Linked DNA regions of Homo sapiens: region 2 is linked to region 1. Evidence: promoter capture Hi-C in 16 types of primary human blood cells and fetal thymus (Javierre and others, 2016). All regions are on one chromosome and are shown on one strand. Each heading gives the region's core, a stretch centred on a gene start or on the middle of the fragment in contact. The rest is flanking DNA. Distances are from core to core; before and after follow the strand shown. Region 1 holds the start of IL18BP (interleukin 18 binding protein). Region 2 has its middle 21 kb from the start of FOLR3.

Region 1 (2,700 bases), core at 173-2,672:
GGTCAGCGGCTCTGGAGACAGAGTGGGCTGCCCGGGTAAGGATGTAACTCCAGCCCAGAGATGTCTGGGTTCTAGCCAGGGAATCAGAGCGGGAAGAGGGACCCCTCAGCACCCACCCCTTAGCCCTTTATTGAACAGAGTACAGAGAAGCTTTAGACTGGAGCCAGAGCTACAATATCTGCCCAGGTTCTTAAAGCAACAGCACCAGGTGCGCTGGGTGGTTTGCCTTGGAGTGAAGGCTCCGGGTTAGCCCATTGCTCCATTCTGTTCATAGACCTCACCCTACCCCGCCTGCCCATGCGTAGCCCCAAGGCCTACCTGGTGTCCAGTTGTGTCTCATGGTCATGATGCATGCGTCAGGAGCTGGTGAGCCTGGCTCTTTATCTGTGACAACGTCCTCTTCTCTGGTGAAAGGTGGGGGAGGAGAATGGTAAACCACTCCCGCTTTTTCTCAGTAGCTGGCTTTTCCTCAGTAGCTGGCTTCTCCTCCCGTAGCATAGCCTGGAGCTCTTTCAGCACTTAGAAACAGAGCTGGGGGGGTCAAGTGACAATCCTTCCCCACCCCAGCTCTCATGACCACAAATGGTTGTAAGATGCTTACCTAGTCCAATCTTACCCCTTCATTAGGGAAGGCAAAATTGAGACCCAAAGAGAGAATATGGACTCACCCAGTCACACAGGGAGGCAGTGCTCTCTTCAGCACCAGAGCTGCTTCTGGGAAGGGCAGGATGCCGAGCAATCCTTCTGGGAAAGCACTGCCCCGACCCTCTATTTCACTTTCACTTTTTAACCAGGGAATCTTGAGCAGCTGTGACACCTCTGCTTTAGCCAAAGTTCAGTGGCCAGAAACCTTCAGCTCCTGGGACTCCTACTCTCCAGAGGATACCAGACTGGGATCTCTAATCTACCCCCATGCCACCCCCAGGGTCACCTAGGGTATGAACTAGATGAGTCTCTCACAGATCAATTCTGTCCCGCCCAAGTGTCAGGACTTTGGTGTCCGCCTCCCCTCTTCACAGCCAGGTCTTTGTTTCCATATGAACAGGCATCTGCTTCCTCCTTCACCTTCACACTGACATTCAAGGGGACAACTTTCCTAGGCACTGGGGAACCCCAAGTTGGACCACTTCAGGCTCAATGCCATACCAGTCCGTCCACATCCTGGCCTTTCCCAGGCTACCCACTCCCCCAGCCACCAGCCCCAAGGTCGGCTACATCTCCCAGCACCCACCATCACACCCTCTGTCTCTCATCCTAGCCCCTCTGGCCAGAGCCACAGGTCTAGGTTCACTAGTAGTCCCAGACTCCTACCTGGCTCCTAAGAGGTCCTGAAGAGCCTTCCTTTCCAGAAGCTTCCCTCTAGGAGCTCCAAGACTCAAGTTAGCTGTGTCTAGCTGCGTGTGAACCCACCACAGGAAATACACCGAGAGCACTTCCTCCTTGTCTGTAGAACTCTCACGGCCAACCCAGGAACTGGCACACAAGCTCGAGAGCCAACCCTAACAGGAGGGAAGGGCAGGCACTTCCCGGGGAAGAGGCGGACTGGCTCAACACTGGCTCTGGCAACAGAGTCTACATCAGAATATGAATCTTGTCACTGATGGGACAAATGGCGCTGGGGCTGCGGGAGGGCCAGGATTCAGGGTGAGGCGTGTGAGGAACCTAGGATGCTAAATCTAAGGAGGTTTTCTCTCAGGGTCATGCAGTTATCCATGGAGGCAGAAAGACCAGGGCTGGGTGATCCAATGCATGCATATATTAAGTGTGGACAGGAGCTGCATGTCTGAGGTTTGTGACTCCTGTGATTGGGAGGGTGCAACGGCTGGTGACAGAGCCAGGGAGGCCCACAGATGGAACTGGGTTTGGTGGATGCATCAGGAACACAGTCAGCTGTGATCTCAAACTTCTTGTAGAAAAACCAGATTCATATTCCTAATTTAGACATAGGATACTACAAGTCACATCCTTCTTCTCTAGGTGTCTAGTTCATGTTTTTCCTCCTCTCAATTCCTCCCCCTACCTCCTGCCCCAGGGGCTTCTAGCATGTAAGATGCAGGAGAAATTCCTCCCAAGAACACCAGCATCTCCAGGAGTTAGGTCAGGAGGCAAGGCTGCCTGGGGTTTCTGAGAGAGACAGTCCAGTGGGGGATGGTAGGGAAAGATGACAGGACTCTGTCTTAGTGGAACCGAGACCAGAGTCAGGCCAAGGGGGGAGGTCAAGGGACTCAGAACTGTTACACATGAAAAGAGCTTTGGACAGCCTGGCCTCGGCTTCTCACCTGAGCCTGACAGGGGGGTGGGGGGAAAAAGTAAAAGGAAGGGTGATCCCTAGGTCCTCTGACCAGCCCCATTCCCCTCTCTGAGGAGGGGAACAGCCCCACAGGTGGCATAAGCAGCAGGGTACCATGGGAAGCCACAGCTGGGGAAGAGAAGCCGAGCCTGAGTGTGGTCCTCAGGAAGGCAGGTGGTGGCGGGACACTGTCCTCAGGCAGTGAGAACATAGAGCAACCTCAGTCTGAAGGCAGGCCCAATGATGCCCCAGGCCCCCAGGCCACAGGACAGGAGCCTGGCATTCCACCACTCCTAGGGATGTCAGCAGGGGAACAGCTGGGAACAGCAGAAAGGCAGGCCCAACCACCCCCAGACCCTCAGGTCTCCGATGGGGGTTAACAAAGGCAAGACACCCCTGGGGACCCCAGG
Region 2 (2,700 bases), core at 75-2,574, 160 kb before region 1:
ATAGGAATTTTGGCAAGATAAAAAAAAATCATTGGATTTAGTCCTCGTTGAGGTGATAACCATTCGGAGGTGAGAAAGTAAGTTAAATTGTAACCCCAGAAGAGTTCCGATTACATAAACACTCAATACATACTTATTGAATGAATGAAAGCCCACGGCCTAGAATTTGGTATAAAGCTTGAGAAAAGAAAAATAGCTCAGAGCAGTCTCATGATGTGAGACATGCCCAATTTATCAGGCCCAGAAAGGCATGAGTATGGAACTTCAGTCACACCCTCCCCACCCATGCCCAGAGACAATTGTTCCAAGGCGTTTTGTCCCTGACTAGCTGCCTCACCCGTTATCTGTTCCTGGAATTTGTGATACAAAAAACAATGTATAGCCAATGAATTGCTTATGTTATTTTATTTTAAATTCTTGATAAACAACTTAGGAACTATTCTGTTTCCTTAAAAACTCACTTGTAACTGCTGTGAATCGAAGTGTATATTCAGGACAACTTGAATCTATGCTTCTGTGTAGCTATCCTCAAGCTTTCTGGATCTCGTTACTTAAGGCTGACAAGCTAAACATTAAAATGTGCACTTAAAAAATATATAAAAGCCCAGGCACAGTGGTTTACACCTATAATCCCAGTACTTTGGAGGCCAAGGTGGGAGGATCACTTGAGTGCAGGAGTTTGAGGTCAACTGGGACAACATAGTGAGACCTCATGTCTAAAAAGAGATAAAAATAAAAAAAAATAAAAATATAAAAAATAAAAGAATAAGTTAAAGTCAGAGCTGCTCAAGGTATACAGGTTATTTACCTCTTGTTAGTCTGCACTTGGCAGCTACAGGCTCACTGATTCAAAACAAGTGCAAACAGGGCAGTGACTGCTATCTGCTAATGGAGTCAAAACGAATATAAATAGAAATCCATATTACAAATTACTTTTCCTCTGTTTCTTCTTTAGTTATATTTGAATATGGATTTTTAAAATAACTGTTTAGCTAAGTTCAGGATATTAAAGGGGTTGTAGCCAAATAATTGTTATAGGCAGACCTCATGTCCAGTGGGATTGAGAGACACAGACTGAAGGTTTGCTAGATGCATGAACCAAGATGCTTCAGGCCGGATGTGGTGGCTCACATTTGTAATCCCAGCACTTTGGGAGGCCAAGGTGGAAGGATCGCTTGAGCCCAGGATTTGGAGACCAGCCTGGGCAACATAACAAGACCTCTCTCAAAGAAAAAAAAAATGCTTCACACCCAGCCTCATAACTGAGAGACTCTCCTTTCTTGAGCTGTTTAGGGCTGGCAGAAAAGAAGCCACTATGAACAGTGTGCAGTTTCTTCTTTCAGATCTATGGAGGAGTCATTCCCAGTCTAAATCCCTAAATCAAGCAACCCCAGGATGGGTCTCTCCAACTTCATTTCCCAGGCTCTCCTCTGGGCCTGCTTCCTTATTTGTGTAATGCGGAAACTCAACAACCAAGAAAGTGAGTTGTTGGCATTGTACCGACATTTGACACACAGTGTCTGTGAAATAAGTAGTCACATATCATATTAATACAAACTGAAGGGCTCCTCTGGTGGGTCTGTCAGAGGCGTTTCAACCAAAGCAACCCCATCTTGAATAGGGGCTGGGTAAAATGAAGCTGAAGCCTACTGGGCTGCATTCCCAGGAGGTGTGGCATTCCAAGTGACAGGATGAGCTAGGAGGTGAGCACAAGATAACAGGTCACAAAGACCTTGCTGATAAAACAGCCTGTGGTAAAGAAGCCAGCCCAAACCCACCAAAACCAAGATGGCGACCAAAGTGACCTCTGGTCATCCTCATCACTCATTATATGCTAATTATAATGTATTAGCATGCTAAAAGACACTCCCACCAGTGCCGTGATTACAGATGCCATGGCAACATCAGGAAGTTACCCTAAATGGTCTAAAAAGGAGAGGAACCCTCAGTTACGGGAATTGGCCACCCCTTCCTTGGAAAACTCATTAATAATCCACCCCTTCTTTAGCATATAATCAAGAAGTAACAATAAGTATCCTTAGTGGAGCAGCTCAAGCCACTGCCCTGCCTATGGAGTAGCCATTCTGTATTCCTTTACCTCCTTAATAAGCTTGCTTTCACTTTACTCTATGGACTCACCCCAAATTCTTTCTTATACAAGATCCAAGAACCTTCTCTTGGGGTCTGGATCTGGATCCCTTTCTGGTAACATCTTCCTGTCGAACCCTGAGGAGACACCCTACCCAAAGGAAATAGACTGCAGCACCAATTGGCTATCTAGGGTAAGTGGCGGGGTACCCAGGTAAAGGATGGAATTGGGTTAGAGGCTCAACTTAGGGGAGTTAAAGTCTCTCCTAAGACAGAGTGGGTTAAAGGCCCCTCTTAATAAAAGGCAAGGACACTTGACTGAACTTTGGTTTGAGGCCCAACTCAGGAGTGTTAGAGTCCCTTCTAAGATTTAGGGAGTTAGAAGCCCCTCTCAGAGTAAAGTTCCTCTTGGCTAAGAACGGATTTAGCACCATGGGATATTAATTGCTATTCTCTTTGGATTAATCTACCTTGAAATCTTTGCTGATGGCTGTGGGTGACAGAATTGTGTATGTACAGGATCCTGGGACATGAGAGCTTTTTGCTCCCCAAACGGGGACACTTAAGAGCTGATGCAACTCCTGGAAAAGATCCCTTCTTAACCAATGAGCG

Evidence for each region. The method cuts DNA at HindIII sites, captures the fragments that hold promoters and counts their contacts. A CHiCAGO score of 5 or more calls a contact.
Region 2: a fragment that was not itself captured here is called in contact with the fragment with the promoter of IL18BP in region 1 in 2 of 17 cell types (endothelial precursors and megakaryocytes); the score reaches 5.4 in endothelial precursors.

Annotation. Positions count from the first base shown.
Region 1 is chr11:71,997,631-72,000,330 of GRCh38, reverse strand. It overlaps IL18BP (interleukin 18 binding protein), which reads right to left and starts at 1,422. Exons shown (of 6, transcript NM_001039660.2): 1 at 1,312-1,422; 2 at 319-404. The coding sequence starts at 346. The HindIII fragment of the contact is 5,155 bases long and covers 1,355-2,700 here.
Region 2 is chr11:72,154,903-72,157,602 of GRCh38, reverse strand. No RefSeq gene overlaps it. Among named protein-coding and RNA genes, the nearest start is that of FOLR3, 21 kb to the right of the region's middle. The HindIII fragment of the contact is 1,577 bases long and covers 536-2,112 here.